4 separate regions of the Homo sapiens genome follow, and regions 1, 2 and 4 are each linked to region 3. Evidence: promoter capture Hi-C in 16 types of primary human blood cells and fetal thymus (Javierre and others, 2016). All regions are on one chromosome and are shown on one strand. The core of a region is centred on a gene start or on the middle of the fragment in contact, and the rest is flanking DNA. Distances in the headings are between cores, read along the strand shown.

Region 1 (4,833 bases), core at 636-3,135, 89 kb before region 3:
TTGAGTCCAGGAGTTTGAAACTAGCCTGGGCAACATAGTGAGATTTTGTCTCTACAAAAAAAGAAAAAAAGTTAGCAGAGCATAGTGGCAAGTCCCTGTGGTCCCAGCCACTTGGGAGGCTGACATAGGAGGATCACTTAAGCCTGAGAGGCTGAGGCGCAGTGAGCCATGGTCACGCCACTGCACTCCAGCCTGGGCAAAAGAGTGAGGCCCTATGTCAAAAAAAAAAAAAAAAAAAAAGGCCCCCAACTTAGTTTCATCCAAGGATGCGGATGCCTATTAATGTGCAGAAGCTTCTAATAAGATTTCAATATTTTTATTCCCTCTTTTAAAAGATTTTCTATAAAAGGCAAATAAAAAGCTTCAGTAACAGCAAAATATTTTTGTTCACCTTTTGAGTAAACTGCACAAAAAAAAAGAGAGAGGAAAGAAGGAGAGATAGATTCTGTATCATATTGTCTTTTTCAGGTCTGTTGACTAGAAAATTGAGTCTCCTCTCTATCAAATAATAAAGGTTTTGCTTTTAAAAAACCTTTTAATGATCACCTTGGCTAAATGAATGACTTATTTCACAGTGACCTGTGATCCTATTTGGGCCAAGTGTTTTCAATCTTTGACATATTGGACAAGCTTCCCCAAATCAAATTTCAAATTCAAAATTAAGTCTTTTTTTGACCTCAAATTAACTTTGGGATGTTACAGAGGTCCCCTACAACAGTCAAAAGAGATAATAAACAGGCTTATTTTATACGTAAAATTACATGAGAAACAGTGTCAAATAAGAAGTGATGTTTAAACTCCATCGAGTTATATTTTTATAAATATTAATATATATTCCAAAATTGTATAAGATTATGAAAATTCTCATGTATCTCAGTATATGTTATCAGACATAATTATGGTTATTACGTTAAACTATTGTAGGCCACAGAAATAACCAAATTTCCTTCTCAATTGTGTCTTTATGACCATTTAAAGTCATTTCCACAGTTAATTACTTAATTCTAAAGCAGTTTCTAATATTAGGTTGGTGCAAAAGTAATTGCGGTTTCTGCTGTTCAAAGTAATGGCGGCTGGGCGCAGTGGTTCACGCCTGTAATCCTAGCATTTTGGGAGGCTGAGGTGGGCAGATCACAAGGTCAGGAGTTCGAGACCAGCCTGGCCAACATGATGAAACCCCATCTCAACTAAAAATACAAAAAATTAGCCAGGCATGGTGGCACACACCTGTAATACCAGCTACTCGAGAGGCTGAGGCAGGAGAACTGCTTGACCCTGGGAGGCAGAGGTTGTAATGAGCCGAGATTGTGCCACTGCATTCCAGCCTGGGTGACAGAACGAGACTCCGTCTCTAAATAAATAAATAAATAAATAAAGTAATGGCAGGCTGGGTGCAAGTGGCTCACCCCTGTAATCCCAGCACTTTGGGAGGCCAAGGTTGGTAGACCACTTGAGGTCAGGAGTTCGAGACTAGTCTGGCCAACAAGGTGAAACCCATCTCTACTAAAAATACAAAAAAATTAGCAAGGCATGGTGGCATGCGCCTGTAGTCCCAGCTACTCGGGAATCTGAGGCAGGAGAATAGTTTCAACCAGGAAGGAGGAGGTTGCAGTGAGCCGAGATAGCACCACTGCACTCCAGCTTGGATGACAGAGCGAGATTCCGTCTCAATAAATAAATAAATAAATAAATAAATGTATGGCAGTTATTAAAAATAACTTCACAAGCAAATAAAATCCTATTTTGTCTTCAAGGAGGTTAATGGAAAAGATGAAATGGACCTTGGTAAGCACTCCTGAAGATAGGTTTCTGGTAACTTTAGGATCATATCGTTTGGACTGAGTAAGAATTACCAGAACCATATTGAAGAGACAGAGTGATATATAAAACTGCTAACTCAAGCAGCACAAGAATTAAATGAATACCAAGAAAATACTTGGCCAGATTTTCATGCTAACTCAGTCAGTACTGAAACTATTAAGATACATAATTTGAATGAACTCCATGGTCCAGGTCAAACTACCTATGATAACCCATCTAATAAACAGTGCTGTGCACCTCCATTGGAGAAAGAAAATTGCTATGTAAGAGGATACAATTCCAGTGTTAAGCATGGACTCATGGAGAGAGACTGGACAGCCGGCTGCCTGCTCCTTCCTGAGTCCTTAAAAATTCCATTACTAGAAGCTGTATTCCATGATTCATCAAGGAAGAGATAAAATGTATATACTGGCCGGGCATGGTGGCTCACACCTGTAATCCCAGCACTTTGGGAGGCCAAGGTGGGCTGATCACCTGAGGTCAGGAGTTTTAGACCACCTGGGCCAACACGGTGAAAGCCTGTCTCTACTTAAAAAATACAAAAAATTAGCTGGGTGTGGTGGCAGGTACTTGCAATCCCAGCTACTTGGGAGGCTGAGGCACAAGAATTGCTTGAACCCGGGAGGTGGAAGTTGCAGTGAGCCGAGATCGCACCACTGCACTCTAGCCTGGGTGACAGAGTGAGACTATGTCTCAAAACAAACAAACAAACAAACAAACACCTTACATATATATTGGTGTTGTGACTGTTCTAAATTGCTAAAATGGTTTATGACCAATGTATAGTTTGTCAAACCCATAATCTTGAGAAGACAACCAAAACTTCAGGTACCTTTCTGCTACATCTGAACACTTTACAGAGGGATTTCATTCAATTGTGATTTTCAGTGCATATTTTCTGGTTGTACAGGAGCTTTCTCATACAAGTGGGCTGATGCTATAACAGCAGCTAAAAGGTTATTAGGAAATGTGTTTCTCTCATAGAACATTGCTGAAGAAATCTCCAGTGATAGAGATACTTGCCTCACTGGACTGGCTGTAAAACAGTTAAATAAGGTATTACAGATATAAGAGCATTAGGCAAAACTAACTGAATAATCTGGATTGCCTTGGTCAAAGATGTTTCAGATTGATGACAAACAGATCCACTTCCATGGGAAAACAAAAGTTGAACCCTTATGAAATAGTCACTGGAAGGCTTATGCTCCTAATAACAGAACCTTCTGTATCTTATGCTCCTAAACCTTAACGTGACTAAATGCTGCAAGGCTGTAATGTATTATGCCAAAGTGTATTTTCACCAGGTAAAGAAAGCTTTTCATGGACCACTGACTCAGGACAAGCAAACCCTTCATGATATAGAATTCAGAGGCTGGATCTTTTGGAAACACATCAGAGAAAGACTCCCCTTGTCACCCACACTGCAGCGAAACTTCAGGACCCTGAAGCTTGGGTTTGTAATCTCACAACTTAGAAAGGCCCACCCAGACTCTTGGAACCACACACCCATCAGAGGGAGAACTTAAGGTAAAGCTAATGAGGTAAGTTTCTCCCGAGAAGCAGATGGCCTCCTAGATGTGGACAGATTTCCCAAGATTGTGGATCAAGACTTCTCTGCTATCATGAGGCTTTTGGCTCTCAATTTTTTCCAAGTTCATGCCTGTTATGAACAACTAAACTGAAAAAGGGGTCTCTTGTGTACACTCACAAGGTATACTTTTATTTGTGAAGGATAAAAAAAACCTCATATTGGCCAGGTGTGGTGGCTCATGCCTGTAATCCCAGCACTTTGGGAGGCCAAGGCGGGTGAATCACGAGGTCAGGAGATCGAGACCATCCTGGCCAACATGGTGAAACCCCATCTCTACTAAAATACAAAAAATTAGCCAGGCATGGTGGCACATGCCTGTAGTCCCAGCTACTCAAGAGGCTGAGGCAGGGGAATTGCTTGAACCCGGGAGATGGAGGTTGCAGTGAGCCAAGATCACAGCCTGGTGACAGAGCAAGACTCCGTCTCAAAACAAAAACCAAAAAACAAAAAAAAACAAAAACCCTCACACACAGAGAAGTTTACGCCTTGATAGAGGGAAGATGAAGGGCCAATGTGGGTGAGAAATTTTAATGGTACCTTTTTTGCTTCATAATCAGTCAGAAACAGAGCACTGGTCAACTCCTCTTAACCTACATCATAATTTAAAGAGAAAATTGTCGGCCAGGCATGGTGGCTCACAACTGTAATCTCAGCAGTTTGGGAGGCCGAGGTGGGCAGATCACGAGGTCAAGAGATGGAGACCATCCTGGCTAACGTGGTGAAACCCCGCTCTACTAAGAATACAAAAAATTAGTTGGGCGTGGTGGTACGTGCCTGTTCTACTTGGGAGGCTGAGGCAGGACAATTGTTTGATCCCGGGAGGCAGAGGCTGCAGTGAGCCGAGATCATGCCACTGCACTCCAGCCTCAAAAAAAAAAAGAGAACATTGTCAATACAGGTTAAAGAGAATAGTGCCAGGAGGCCTTCACTCTTCTGGATGGGCATTATTTGTTAGTTTATTTTTCTATGGTGTGTTTTTTCCTTTTTGGAGACAGGGTCTGGCTCTGCTGCCCAGGCTGGGATGCAGTGGCGTGATCTCGGCTCACTGCAACCTCTGCCTCCTGGGCTCAAGCAATCCTCCCACTTCAGCCTCCTGAGTAGCTGGGACCACAGGCGTGCACCACTGTGCTCGGATTATTTTTGAATTTTCAGTAGAGACAGGGTTTTGCCATGTTGCCTAGGCTGGTCTTGAACTCCTGAGCTCAAGCAATCTGCCCACCTCAGCCTCCCAAAGTGATTGCAGATTACAGGTGTGAGCCACTGCGCCTGGCCTATGGTTTGGAGTTAATGTAATGAGGCAATGATTAGAAATTTATCTCTCTAAATTTTCTAGCCTATTAGAAATTTATAGGCTCTTTAGCAGATTCTACTGCAAAGACTATGGTTATACAAGAGACTTTAAATTATCTTGCTAAAGTTGT
Region 2 (4,742 bases), core at 1,012-3,511, 110 kb before region 3:
TTTGGGTTATAGACTCTCAGACATCCTGGGAATGTCAGTTTACTTTTTGTTGTTGGAAAGTTTGAGATGCACTGATTTAAAGCTTATGTTCCACCAAGTAAAGCTAACACATTAATGAAAAGGTTTTCTGGAAAGAATAAGAAAAACTTTTTAAATTATTTAACTGAAACTTAAGGCCAGGTGCAGTGGCTCAAGCCTGTAATCCCCGCACTTTGGGAGGCCAAGGTGGGCGGATTACTTGAGGTCAGGAGTTTGAGACCAGCCTGGCCAACATGGTGAAACCCTGTCTCTACTAGAAAAAATAAAAATAAAAAAATTACTGGGTGTGGTGGCACCCAGTAATCTCAGTCTGTAATCCCAGCTACTAGGGAGGCTGAGGCATGAGAGTCACTTGAACCTGGGAGGCGGAGCTTGCAGTGAGCCGAGATCATGCCACTGTACTCCAGCCTGGGCAACAGAGTGAGACTCTGTCTCAAAAACAAACAAACAAACAAACAAAACAAAACAACAACAACAACAAAAAAAAACTAAAGCTGTAATTCTACAATTAAATTTTTTTTTATTTTTTGAGACAAGGTCTGGCTCCGTCACCTAGCCTGGAGTGCAGTGGCATGATTTTGGCTCATGGCAACCTCCCTCTGCCTCCGCGCTCAAGTGATCCTCCCACGACAGCCTCCTGAATAGCTGAGACTACAGGCACGTGCTACCACACCTGGCTAATTTTTATATTTTTTGTAGAGACGGGGTTTCTCTATGTTGCCCAGGCTGGTCTCAAACTCCTGAACTCAAGCAATCTGCCCATCTCAGCCTCCCAAAGTGTTGGAATTATAGGCGTGAGCCACCATGCCCAGCCCAATTAAACTCTTTCACATGCTTAATACTACTAGTACATGTCAAAGTTTTCTATAAAATGTTATCGTCATTAGCTGAGTGTGGAGGCCTGTTGTCCCAACTACTTGGGAGGCTGAGGTGGGAGGACTGCTTGAGCCCAAGAGTTCTAGTCTAGCCTGAGCAAAATAGTGCTTTCTCTTTCTCTCTCTCTCTTTTTTTTTTAAAGATGCATATGCTAAAGGAACAATCAGGTACTTTCACATTTTTTAACATTTTAGTGAAATTAAGGGCCTGTTTTAGGGAGATTCATTCTATTAAACTACTTATATTCTGGTATTTTCATAAAAATAAGTTCCTAAGCCCCTCTCAAGGTAAGGAAAGGGAAGACATTTGTTTACTGAAAGTTTCATCTAATTTCATGTGGAAACAATTTGGAATGCAAAGAGTATTTCTTTATCCTTTTTCTGAGATTTAAAAAATACACGTAAGAATGACAGTTCTTGAATTAAAATATTTTACCCAAAGTGTAGGCTTACCTGTATTCCAGCATGGCTACAGAGGTAAAAATCGAACTCATATGGGTGTGTAATGTCTGTATCAACTGTTGTTCCAGCTGGGATATTGCCACTTCTTCCAACCTAGATTTGTTTGGTTAAAGTTTAAACAAACAAGAAAAAGGTAAAAATATATCTGAAAGCACTTTAAAAAATGTATGAATACATAGGCTGATCCTACATTTCACTACTTTCACCTTGAAATATGACTTAAGCAGTCATTCAGAGCAGACTACGCAGGTCCTAGTTCCTATTCTTACATGTTGCTGAAAGTGAGCGCTGATACACAACAAAACCTAATACAGTCTCTACTACTGCTTAGCTGATAGTTGACCCCACTATGGGTGGAAGACACTAAAAAAAATTTTTTTTAAATTAACTTAAAGTGCTCCAATTTATGGTACCTGTGCATAGTAGGTATTCTTGAACGTGTGATTTATGAAGATCAGCATTTACCTTGGAGAAAACTAGATGTTTAGAGAGAGAGAATGCTGACAAGATCAACAACAGTCACACCATTTGTTAACCATTTATGGATCAGGCACTTTGAACACATTATTTCTAAAACCTGGTAACAATCCTGCAAGTTAGGGATTATTTCCATTTGTTTAGGGAAATAAAGGCTCAGGAATACAAAATAATTTGCTCAATAGCACACAATAAAGGGCAGAACTGGGATTCAAACAATGAAATAATTGCAAAGGCCTTATTCCTTTTATTTCATACTATCAGTTTCAACATCTTGTAAGAGGACACCATGATTTTCTCTGAGTGGATATAATATAACTGAAATGACCCAAAATTCTTGATGATACAAGCTCCTTATAAAACACTTAAAAATGTTTATTATACCCACCTCCACCGCCTTATCCCAACACATTTAAAATCATTAACTGTAAGTCTAGGTTTACAAGGCTAGCAAATCAGAAACTATTTTACTGACTCAGATAATATTTTTGCCACGTGAGTGACTGTTATAAGGTAGTACCTTGAATTATAGTGGTGTGGACCAACCAGCTTCACTTTACCAAGCACAAAACAAAACAGTTCATAATCTACTAAATTATGCCTGGTCCTAAAAAAATACTTAACTCTAATAAATTAGCAACACGTAAATCTTCTAATTAATATATACAAAAAGTTGTAGGCTGGGTGTGATGGCTCACACCTATAATCCTAGCACTTTGGGAGGCCGAGGTGGGCGGATCATTTGAAACCAGGAGTTTGTGACCAGCCTGGCCAACATGGTGAAATCCTGCCTCTAATAAGACTACAAAAATTAGCCGGGTGTGGTGGCACATGCCTGTAATCCCAGCTACTCAGGAGGCTGAGGCCTGACAATCACTTGAACCCAGGAGGTGGGGGCTGCAGTGAGCCAAAGTCATGCCACTGCACTCCAGCCTGGGCAACAGAGCAAAACTGTCAAAAAAAACAAAAACAAAAAAATACAACTATCTCATAATCTTGTTGGTGAGGATTAAATTGATGAAATTTATAAGCAATACTTAGAACAATATCTATTATTATTTCTTCTTCTCTATTCTACCACTATCACCACCACTCTGCAGCTAGCCAAACTTTATTTATTAATTTTTTTTTGTTCTCATCACTCTACTAATGAGAGCTAGCCAATCTTTACTGAGTACTTAGTGTGGGCCAAGCCCTGTTCTAAGTGCATTACGTATTTTATTTAATTCTCCCGACAACCCAAATAAGGTAGATATTAATATTATCCAATCTTGCTAAGAAATAAACAGACACAGAGATGTTAAGTTGCTTGCCCAAAGGAATACAGTGAGTATGTATGGCAAAGAAAAACACCCCTCTCTTAGTCCTTTCTATCAAATCCCTTTCTCAAGGGGAAACAACACTTGGTATCATTAGATTTCTCTGCTCCAAGATTTACAGGATGGGGGCAGATGTGATCAGAGCACTGAAAATGACAGTAAGACTGCTGTCTTGCTGCACACAGATAAGAAAACATATTTCTGGCCGGGCGCAGTGGCTCACACCTGTAATCCCAGCACTTTGGCAGGCCGAGGCAGGCGGATCACAAAGTGAGGAGATCGAGACCGTCCTGGCTAACACGGTGAAACCCTGTCTCTACTAAAAATACAAAAAATTAGCCGGGCATGGTGGCAGGCGCCTGTAGTCCCAGCTACTCAGGAGGCTGAGGCAGAAGAATGGCGTGAACCTGGGAGGCGGAGCTTGCAGCGAGCTGAGATCGCGCCACCGCACTCCAACCTGGGCGACAGAGTGAGACTCCGTCTCAAAAAAAAAAAAAAAAAAAAAAAAGAAAACATATTTCCTTAGGTATTTATACCTCTCTTTCCTTCCTAATTATAAAAAATATACATTCACATTATAAAATGCATAAAATAATTCTGTGAACTTTAAAGGAAACATGGCTAAAAGTTAGTTTGTATAAATTTCCACTTTTTTTTTTTTTTTTTTTTTTGAGATGGAGTTTTGCTCTCTTGCCCAGGCTGGAGTACAGTGGCACCATCTCGGCTCACTGCAACCTCTGCCTCCTGGGTTCAAGTGATTCTCCTGCCTCAGTCTCCCGAGTAGCTGGGATTACAGATGTGCGCCACCACACCTGGCTATTTTTTGTATTTTTAGTAGAGACAGGGTTTCACCGTGTTGGCCAGGCTGGTCTTGAACTCCTGACCTCAAGTGATCTGCCTGCCTTGGCCTCCCAAGGTGCTGGAATTACAGGTGTGAGCCACTGTGCCTGGCCTGAATTTCCACTTTTTTAAAAAACTAATTTGTATGAGATATTTTAAAAAGAGAATGTACTGTTTTTTCTGAAGATTTTAGGAAAATATGAATAGAAGAATAATTTTAAAACCATGAGTTTCTTCACAACAAAAAAGTAGAATGAGATTTTGAATATTTGGAGTGTGACTAGAAATTCTAGAAAGTTAAAAATAATCTATTTTGATGCTTCTATACTCATAATGTAATTGTTGAAATTTGCTACTATATATTGGAAATCCTGCTGTTGGCAGAGGGCCCTTGTTGAATGCTCTATGAACTATGTTGGATAAGCTTGGTTTATAACAGTATTACAACAGAGGTGAGATTACCCTTTCTGTCCTATCAGCACAAAATAATCGAGTGTGATGTCTCTTCTGAACTACAATGTAGGTTATTCCAGGTTGATAGTCTTTCTCCAAACTGATGCAGGCTTCTCGAATTGCTAGTAGTTCATAATATAATACCTAGAGAATATGAAATGGAAAGATTCAATATAGTCAGCTATTTGTTTTTATATACTTCAAAGTAGGATAATGATTTAATCTCAGGATTCCTTAATTTCACCACTCTATAGCTAATAGATTCCATTTTAACGAT
Region 3 (5,088 bases), core at 2,567-5,066:
TTGTTTTCTGGGAGGCCGAGGCAGGCAGATCACCTGAGGTCAGGAGTTCAAGACCAGCCTGGCCAACATGGTGAAACCCCGTCTCTACTAAAAATACAAAAAATTAGCCAGGCATGGTGGTGCGCGCCTGTAATCCCATCTACTCGGGAGGCTGAGACAAGAGAATCACTTGAACCCAGGAGGCAGAGGCTGCAGTGAGCCAATATCATGCCACTGCACTCCAGCCTAGGCGACAGAGCAAGCAAGACTCCATCTCAAAAAAAATAAATAAATAAAAAGAAGATTGTTTTAAATACTAAATTGGGACCCTGATGGCATTACATATTTTAGTAGGTATTTTTGACCCATAATTTTTATCTACATCATTCAAATCCCAATCTTGATTTAGTTCTAGCTTCCCATATATGCAACTTTTATTCCTTTGGAACTTGGTTCCAAATAACTTTTCTAAAACTTTTATTATTAAATAAACACAGAACTCTAAAACAACTATTTTCAGACATGAATTTAAAAGTGTAAATAAGAAAGAAACAGTCTATTCACTTTTGCAAGACTGTATAAAACTTCCACCAAACATCAAACAATTTGCATGTCATTAATTTAAGGTAAAAGTAAATGTTTTTCTTCCATTATAAAGTGTAGTTCCTCTGTCCTAAACGGTAGTCTAACATTACCTGAAAACATAGACTAGAATAGTATGGACCTAAAAAATGAGTACTCAGGAGAAGTAACATCATCAAGCATTTCTGCAGCTCCCTATTCCCACTTTATTTAGAACTGAAACATAACCTATACTCTTAGTTCAGCAGTAATTAGACCATAAAAAACGGTGTTTCATCAGATGTTCCCCAACTAAAGAGTCACAGACACAGATGTTAAACTGTTGATTAATTTTTAACTAATTTCACCTTTTTTTTTGTTAAATCAAAGTTCTGATGGTACTAAATCAGTAGATTGCACAAGATATCCTTAAAAAGCATTTAAAATATTTCATATGAAAGAACAAATACTAACTTATATGGTATTTGTGTTCGAGGTTCCCTAATGTAAACAAATTTAACAGTTTTCTGTGTATCCACCGAGCAACTAGAATTTAAAATATCCTATCACAAGATGATTCCTGAGAATCTCCACAAAAAAGAAAAACTTATGGCAGAATTGGAAAGCCAAGATTCAATACTGAGTCAATAGACTTTTTGAGAACATTTATACTAAAATTTTAAAATCAAAATACGTGTCAAATGATGATTTTTTTTTTTTTTTTTTTTTTTTTTTTTTTTGAGACAGGGTCTTGCTCCGTCACCCAGGCTGGAGTTAGTGGCGCGATCATAGCTCACTGCAATCTCTGCCTTCTGGGCTCAATCCATTCTCCTGCCTCAGCCTCCCAAGTAGCTAGGACTGGAGACATGTGCCACAATTCTCGGCTAAGTTTTCTGTTTTTTGTAGAGGCAGGTCTCACTATGTTACCTAGGCTGGTCTCCAACTGCTGGGCTCAAGCGATCATCCTTCCTCAGCCTCCCAAAGTGCTGAGATTACAGGCATGAACCACCACACCCAGCCTAAATTATGGATTTAAAATTTAGTTGCACAGCTATGCTTTCAACTTAAAGCTAAGCATACCAATTATATACAAGTCTCAGGAATAATGAAAATTTTGTTTCTGATGACAATCTTGAGCCAAAGTATAGCTTATCTTCATTATTAGGCTACATTCAATCATGTATAAACTGTACTGAAGAAAAAACTTTACTTTTCAAGAGACCCAGGCATATAGTTGATAATCTAACTACACACTTCCCCAAATGTGAAGACAGCTAAATGGGTATCCATTTCAGCAATGGGACACCCAAAAAAGAAGAGGTAAAATGTATTTTCTGAGCTGTACTTGGCTTAGTTGTACCAGTTGACTAGGTGGTTTGATGTAACAAATGTTTTCTAAGACATTTCCCATATATATGGGCACAATATCATATGAAAAACCCTAAGGAGAAAAAGAAAAAACTTTAAAAACTTTTTTGAAATATCTTTAAAAGTTTTGGGATGATTAATAAAGGGTCTGACCTTCATGACTTGTTTTCCAGACTTGACAACAGGACAGTTATGTACAAAGATCACCTATGGTCCCAAATAATCACATCTCCTGTACAGTAAAACAGTAGTATGGTAATTTTTTTAAAAGGGCAGGACAGTTTCAGAAATACACAAATCAAAACTGAATAAGAGTCGAAATCTTTTCACAATCCAGACAGACCTTTTAAGACGATATGGGGGAAAGCGAAACAATGGAGCAGGAAAAAGAGATATGGTCTAAATTGATTAGAGAAACTTCCATGTAACAAAATTTGTAAAAAAAAAAAAAAAAAATTTGTAACTCTCTCCCCATCTCATCTCCCCAGTTTGAGTGCTTTTTTGCAACCATTTGACACGTAATCTATTCAACAAAGTTCTTAGCTATCGTTATGTCACTGGTTTCTTTTACGTAAGTTTTTCTTATATCAAATTGGCAAAAAGAGATATGGAATTCAGGAACTTGTAACACCATTAGTAACAAGACAGCCCCGCAAATATTTTGAAAATTAATTTACGAACTTGTGATCGTCTGAAGCATACTTTCAAATTTAATAAGCCAAGCATGATCATTTGTTAGGCAAACCGTTATGCAACACCTTTCTGTCCCTGAATTAATTACTTTAGAACCATAAACAATACTTTTCCTTTTTTAAGGACAAGTACTATCCATGTTGCAATTTTCTCTTAAGACTGCAAAACTGCTGCTCTTGCCCCCAGAGATAAAGCAGTTTTCTTAAATTCCAAATTTCCAGGAATATGACAACTACTTCTCTAAGGAATAGAGAATGAAAAAAAATATACTGTCAGCAATTTTAAGAACCACCTCCTCGTATAAGCAGGGATCCAGGCTGCTATGACATTTCCAAGCTCCTCAGAAACTATCTACCATGCTGCCACAAACAACAGAAAAGAACTCGAGGGTAGGAGCAATGCCATGTTGAATTTAACGTTGCACCAACACCTCCTTCGAACTTAATCTGAAGTTATCCGTTATCTCAGCCTATCTTCACAACTATCCTAAGAGGTAGGTAAGGGAGCTGGCTGGCTGCCCAGCCTCTACGGAACACACAACCTGGCTAAAGGACACGCACTCCAACTAGACAATGGCAAACCATTCTAAAGTCTAGAAGAAGGGTACTCCAGCAAAGAGTAATGCCGCCTAGATAACCCCAAACTTAAATCCTCCAAGCGTTTCCCCGCCTCGCAGTTTCGCCGACTCAGGGGCCCCCGGGGAACTGGGGCTGGGCTGCGGGGAGGTCGCGGAGGAGCAGGGCGAGGGGCGGGAGACCGAGCGATGCCCGCCCGACGCTCACCTCGCGCACCTGGGCCGGGCGGGAGGAGCAGGGATGCTCAGAGGACAGTAGCTGGGTGACATCCCCTACCTGGCCCAGCTACTCTGACTCACCTGCGGAGCCGATTTCCATTCATGGAGCTGGGGGGAGTGCTTCGAGGGAGAACGGAGCCCGCCACTGGCGGCAAGGAGGCGGCCCGGGGGGCGACGCGGCGCGACGCGACGGGCACTCTCACTCGGCCCCGAGGCGGGGGCGGCGACGGCTTCCCCTGAGCAACCGCACTCCGAAAGCTCTGGGCCGGAAGAGTCGCGGACGGAAAACGGCACAGGACTAGGCGAGAGGAAGGGGAGATGTGAGGCGCGGACAGAGGGGAGTCCCGTCCGGAAGTTGCATCGCCCGCGGCCGCCGACGCTCCCACCGCTCCTCCACGACTGCGGGCCGCCGCCGCCGACCTGCCCGGGGCCGCCCCGGAAGCTCGCCGGCGTCAGTTCCGCTGCCTGGCTTGCCCGGCGTCCTCGCCTCGCCTCTGGGCCCCGAGCCGTGCCGGAGCGACGTCGGGGCAGGAGCGGCCGGCGCGGAGGACGCCGGGGAGGTGTCCGGGAGCCGGGCCACATGCGGCGGGCTCGGCCGTACCCCGCCGGGCCGTGCCGGCCGGAGACAACGCGGAGGGGCAGGACTACTCGCGCCGCACGAGTGGGGGCGGTGCCTGTCTGCGACGACGTCGCGGCTGGCGGCGGGGCTTACCTGAGGAGTAGCCTACCTGGAGCCGGCGGGTGAAGGACCCCGAACTGCCGCGGAGGCCCCGAGCCGAGCCCGCTGGGGTAGGGCCACCCTCCTTCCTGAGCCCCCGCCACGCCCAGTCCGATCCACCCCACGCGCCGCCTCCTCACAGGCGGTCAAGTGACCACCGCAATTGACCTAAGTCCTAGGCTGCTTTAACGACCATTTTTAGGAAAAAAAAAATGTATTATAGTTTGGAAAAGATGACTAACAAACAGGACACTACACAAACATCAGATCGAGTAATTTCCATGTTTAAAACTCTTTAATAGCGCCTCGTCACACTTGAAAACCCAAACTCCTTTCCAGGGTGAAAACGCACGGCGTAAATGGGCCCCGCCTGTGCTACAGCTATACTGGTTGGCTTCCAATTCTCCCAACGGGCCAACCGCTGCTTTTTTCTGACTTGGAGCTTCTCTGCTTTTGGTTCCCTTGGCCAGGAACCCTCTCTCTCTTCTCCACCCTCCCCTTACGCCCTACCCCACAGCTTTTTTTTGCGTCTCAACGAAAGACATCTGAGACGCCTTTTCCGGACCACCCATCTATGGTGGGGCACCTGTTAGTCTACTACAGTATTGCCTTGGTAGCCCTTTGCCCAGTCTGTTATTTATTTACTACTTGTGTGCCCCCCACCTCACTTGAATGTCAGGCAAATATTAGGTCCTTAATAAATATTTGTTGCCTTAATGAAACATACTATTTTATTCAGGCTGAGGAATCATTCATAATTTCTCCCCATGTCCCTATGCTTCAGTAATACGGTTTTTTTTAATCAAAATAATTTTTTAAAGAGGAAAAGGAGAAAGAATATCCTATCTTCAGTTCCCCTCACTGTGGGACTTTGGATCAGTCACTTGATCTCTCTGGGCTTCAATTTTCTTATCTGAAAAATTGAGAGAACAGCATGTACCTTACACAGTTTGTAAGGTTAGGTAATATACATAAA
Region 4 (5,077 bases), core at 2,341-4,840, 100 kb after region 3:
GAAATTTTCCATGTTGGTTAAAGCTTGGATGAGAAATTTTTTTAAATTAAAATTTAAGAAGAATTTTAAAAAAATAACTTAAAACAAGAAGATACTGCAGAACCAGAACATACATAGACTCACTTGAGGTCAGGTAACACCTACAGGTACAAATACAACCTCTTGCTGGCTTCAAATTAACATAAAGATTTGGAGTAATCCATGTAGGTGTTTTGTTCCCTTAAGATAACTTTATGTAAAATGAGTGTAGCATAGTTATTGGGGCCACATTTTTAGATTCCCAAATTTTTAGATCCTAAAACTAGAACAAATACATGTGGATCTGGAGACAACAAGACCAAATACATGAATCTGAGACTGTGCCAGAATATTTGGCATAATTAAGATACTCTATTTGGCTTTTCCAGTGGGCAAATTATCTCAAATACTTAGTACAATAATAACTTTAATCTTGCTTTTTTTTTTTTTTTTTTTGAGACAGAGTCTCGTTCTGTCACCTAGGCTGGAGTGCAGTGGCATGATTTTGGCTTACTGAAACCTCCACCACTTGGGCTCAAGCAATTCTCCCACCTCAGCCTCCCAACTAGCTGGGACAAATGCCTGGCTAATTTTTTTGTATTTTTTATAGAGGGGTCTTGCCACATTGCCCAGGCTGGTCTCGAACTCCTGGGCTCAAGGAATCCTCTTTCCTCAGCCTCCCAAAGTGTTGGGATTACAGTTGTCAGCCACCATGCCGGGTTTTAATCTTGCATTTTTTTTTTTTTTTTTTTTTTTTTTAAGATGTAGTCTCACTCTGTTGCCCAGGCTAGAGTGCAATCTCGGCTCACTGCAACCTCTGCCTCCCGGGTTCAAGTGATTCTCCTGCCTCAGCCTCCCGAGTACCTGGGATTACAGGCGCCTGCCACCATGCCTGCCACCATGCCCAGCTAATTTTTGTATTTTTAGTAGAGACAGGGTTTCACCATGTTGGCCAGGCTGGTCTTGAACTCCTGACCTCTAGTGATCTGCCTGCCTCGGCCTCCCAAAATGCTGGGATTTAGAGGCGTGAGCCACCACGCCCAGCCCGTTAATCTTCTTTTCTTAACTGCCACAGCCTTACAAAGTAGTGGTGCAGTAAGGGTCATCTATGTGATATTTAAATATATGAGTTATAATCTTTCAGCAAAGATTATATACGTCTATAAGTCTAATTATTCTAACAGGGTTATGTGAAATAATTAAATAATGAAAAGAGCACAGTTCTTGAACAAATGCTACAATTCTCAACAGTGACTTCATAAGGTTTTGGTAACTTTTTTTTTTTTTTTTCTGAGAAAGAAGTCAATGGTATAATACAAATAATACATGAAATACCAATTTACCACTCTTAAGAAATTCATGTAGTGTGTACATGAGGTCATACTGAAGAATTTATTCCAATCAGACTGAAATAATGCACTTTATTTATCCAGAAGCCATCTGAAAATTTCAACTATCTAGACAAAGCCCTCTGGGTGATTTTGATATGCACTAAAGTTTGAAAATTAAGAATCATGAATCTAAAACAAAGTCAGATTAGAATATAAGCAAAAAAAGGTGTGTGTGTGGGGGGGGGGGCTCTGAGTAACCAAAATAATGTAAATGTAGTAAAGTGTATACTGTATATTTAACTCTTTATTTAGAAGAGCCAATATTTATGTTTATGTCAGACATGATCTTGATTACAAGAATAAGATACAGATATAATTTTTAAAGCACTTTCACATATAGTGTCTCACTGAGGCACAGTTTTCAGTAGATTAGAAGTGTTGGGTGATGGGCTGGGCGCAGTGGCTCATGCCTGTAATCCCAGCACTTTGGGAGGCCGAGGCGGGTGGATTGCCTGAGGTCAGGGGTTCAAGATCAGCCTGGCCAACATAGAGGAACCCTGTCTCTACCAAAAATACAAAAAATTAGCTGGGCATGGTGGCAGGTGCCTGTAATCCCAGCTACTTGGGAGGTTGAGGCAGGAGAATCGCTTGAACCGGGGAGGTGGAGGTTGCAGTGAGCAGAGATCACGACATTGCACTCCAACCTGGGCAACAAGAGCTAAACTCTGTCTCAAAAAAAAAAAGAAGTGTTGGGTGATTAGGAAAATGAGATTGGGGAAATGGAAAGGAGTATGCTGCTGGAGGATGCCATAGACACCAACAGCTGTAAGAAGTGACAGCTACCTACAAAGGGAGGGAGAGAAATCCACACAAAACACAAAGCAATAGATGTCTTCTCCCAGCCTGGGCAACAAAGTGGGACCCCATCTCTATTAAAAATACAAAAATTAGCCAGGCATGGTGGCACATGCCTGTAGTCCCAGATACTCAGGAGGCTGAGGTGGGAGGATTGCTTGAGCCCAGGAAGCTGAGGCTGCAGTGGGCCATGACGGTGCCAAGCACTATATATATACGTGTGTCTGTATTTTTTTTAGAAGATACATACATACATATAAAATGTCTTCTCATATATTTTATTTACATGTATGTCTTCTCCTGACAGCCTTATATGATATCTAGGCCTTAATAGACCTTTTGAGCCATGTATTAAGAATTACAACAGTAGGCTGGGTGTGCTGGTTCACACCTGTAGTCCCAGCACTTTGGGAGGCCGAGGCGGGCAAACTGTTTGAGCCCAGGAATTCAAGACCAGACTGGGCAACATAGCAAAACCCCACCTCTACAAAAAAAATTAGGCGAGTGTGGTGGTGCATGCCTGTAATCCCACTACTTGGAAGTCTGAGGTGGGAGGTTCACTTGAGCCCAGAAGGTGACAGAGTGAGACCCTGTCTCCAAAAGAAAAAAAAAAAAAAAAAAAAGAATAACAACAGTATAATAAAAAAAAGCTTATAATGACTCTGCATCATTAAATAAAAAGATTAAATAAAACATAGATTAAATAAAAGTTAATCTATGTTTAACATACTCTACTTAAGAGGTAAATTGAATTAAAGGCAAGGAATGTGTTTTATAAATACCTCTACCAAAAATATTCAGAAAATGTTTTAAAACTTTGGTGTTAAAAGCAAAGATTCTCGTGATCTTGAAAATTTCAGTATAAGATAACCAATTTCTTTCTTTTTTTCTTTTGAGATGGAGTTTCACTCTGTCACCCAGGCTGGAGTACAAGGTGTGATCTTGGCTCACTGCAAACTCTGCCTCCTGGGTTCAAGCGATTCTCCTGCCTCAACCTCCCAAGCAGCTGGGATTACAAGCGCCTGCCACTAAGCCTGGCTAATTTTTGTAGTTTTTAGTAGAGACGGGGTTTCACTATGTTGGCCAGGCTGGTCTCGAACGCCTGACTTCAAGTGATCTGCCTGGCTCGGCCTCCCAAAGTGCTGAGATAACAGGTGTGAGCCACCATGCCTGGCCAAGATAACCAATTTCTTTTTATTTATTAATTTTTTTTGAGACAGGGTCTTGCTCTGTTGCCCAGGCTGGAGTGCAGTGGTGTGACCTCGGCTCACTGTAACCTCCACCTCCCAGGTTCAAACAATTCTCTGCCTCAGCCTCCCGAGTACCTGGTGTTACAGGTACCCGCCACCACGCCCAGCTAGTTTTCTTGTATTTTTAGTAGAGATGGGGTTTCACCATCTTGGCCAGGCTGGTCTTGAACTCCTGACCTCATGATCCACCTACCTCGGCCTCTCAAAGTGCTGGGATTACAGGTGTGAGCCACTGTGCCCGGCCAATAACCAATTTCTTAAAACAATTATAGTAGCTCCCTCTGTTACTAAAAATGTAATTGTATTACTTTAGATGTGGTTAACATACGTTTGATGACTGGCTGGCCGTCTAGTCACATTACAAACTCGGTATTTTCGTTTCATCTGTCCACAGTGGGTCACCTCAACTTTGAGACCTGAAATTTTTTTTAAAAGGCAAAACATCAGTTAATTAAAATCACAGTGGCAAAAACAGATTCAAATGTTGTCTTCAAAATGTCATGACATTGTACAGGATAAAAATTGCAAGAATATGGGGACAATTTCATCGTTATAGGCAAAAAACCTGAGTTAAGCAGAATAAATTAGAACTCAGATTACCTAAGATGCTCAATCTCCTTTAGTTTATTATTTCATCCAATAAATATTTATTAAGCATCAACTATGTTCTGATGCTTATTTTCAGGTCTGGAGACAGCTTTCGTGAAGTTTATATTCTAGTGAGGGAAACTAACTAATAACAAGAAGAAAAGAAATCCCAGAAGGATAATAAATGAATTTATGTTATTTTATTAAAATGGAAGTTCTTAAGTGGGTAAGCATAGCATTTACTGAGTGCCTGATATGTGACAGGTACTATGCTAGAAAGCTTTATAAGCCTAATTGCATTTAATTCTCACAACAACTCTACAAGGTATATATTATTATCTTTACCTTAGAGATGAATACACTAAGGTTCACAGTGGTTAAGGAACTTGACCAAGGTCCCATTGATAGAAGTGGTTAGCCTGAGACCGAAGCCCAGGTCTGTGTGACTCCAGAGCACAGGCAACGTGCAGCATGCTGAGCTGCTTCTCCAAGACTACATTAATGCAAACACTTACCTCTGATTTCTTTGGTAAATTTGACACGCTGGGAGTCTGTTAGAGGTTTGGTCTGTTCATTGATGTTCTGAATGTCTAAAACCTCACACATGAACTCAATGATAGGCTGAGCCCGGTAGAAAGCAGTTGCAGATACTAACAAACAGAGAAGGATACTTCACTTCAGGGAAAAGGGAAGGGCCAAAACAAACAAACAAACAAAAACCAGCCCAAAGAGTTATTGGATAAAGAGAGTTCCATCCTACCATCAATGTTGAGCATCATATTCCACATGGCAGGTCTCACAGACTGATGAAAACCAAACCAGACCTCCCTGCCCCCTCCCAGAGGGTGGTAGTAACCTTCCGGGGGTGAGAAAAAGGAACGGCCCACTGGGGTGTACCTGAAGAAATAAGAGTTTGCATGTGTCACATTAAACATGTGAAAGGTCCTTCATTTCACTCTCAACTCTGGGAGCTGAAATCAAATTTGAACAATGACTTATGCAGAAATTTTTCAATGGCTCCAGTACAACCTACCA

What was found. The method cuts DNA at HindIII sites, captures the fragments that hold promoters and counts their contacts. A CHiCAGO score of 5 or more calls a contact.
Region 1: a fragment that was not itself captured here is called in contact with the fragment with the promoter of AGO3 in region 3 in 1 of 17 cell types (M1 macrophages); the score reaches 5.3 in M1 macrophages.
Region 2: a contact is called between a fragment that was not itself captured here and the fragment with the promoter of AGO3 in region 3, in 2 of 17 cell types (M1 macrophages and M2 macrophages). The highest score is 5.4, in M1 macrophages.
Region 4: a contact is called between a fragment that was not itself captured here and the fragment with the promoter of AGO3 in region 3, in 2 of 17 cell types (M0 macrophages and M1 macrophages). The highest score is 7.5, in M0 macrophages.

What each region holds. Positions count from the first base shown.
Region 1 is chr1:36,017,470-36,022,302 of GRCh38, reverse strand. All of the region lies in intron 11 of AGO3 (argonaute RISC catalytic component 3), which reads right to left. It overlaps LOC105378647 (a long non-coding RNA gene), which reads left to right and starts at 642. Exons shown (of 3, transcript XR_001737972.2): 1 at 642-3,362. The HindIII fragment of the contact is 2,505 bases long and covers 633-3,137 here.
Region 2 is chr1:36,040,174-36,044,915 of GRCh38, reverse strand. It overlaps AGO3 (argonaute RISC catalytic component 3), which reads right to left. Exons shown (of 19, transcript NM_024852.4): 16 at 4,475-4,609; 17 at 1,368-1,469. Among named protein-coding and RNA genes, the nearest start is that of TEKT2, 42 kb to the left of the region's middle. The HindIII fragment of the contact is 4,354 bases long and covers 85-4,438 here.
Region 3 is chr1:35,929,833-35,934,920 of GRCh38, reverse strand. It overlaps AGO3 (argonaute RISC catalytic component 3), which reads right to left and starts at 3,816. Exons shown (of 19, transcript NM_024852.4): 1 at 3,476-3,816. The coding sequence starts at 3,494. AGO1 (argonaute RISC component 1) reads right to left here. Exons shown (of 19, transcript NM_012199.5): 19 at 4,389-5,088. RefSeq lists enhancers at 2,629-3,151, 3,152-3,676, 3,677-4,200 and silencers at 3,314-3,653, 3,664-4,173. The HindIII fragment of the contact is 14,155 bases long and covers 1-5,088 here.
Region 4 is chr1:35,825,541-35,830,617 of GRCh38, reverse strand. It overlaps AGO4 (argonaute RISC component 4), which reads right to left. Exons shown (of 18, transcript NM_017629.4): 5 at 4,803-4,939; 6 at 4,558-4,692; 7 at 3,783-3,870. Among named protein-coding and RNA genes, the nearest start is that of AGO4, 20 kb to the right of the region's middle. The HindIII fragment of the contact is 1,468 bases long and covers 2,857-4,324 here.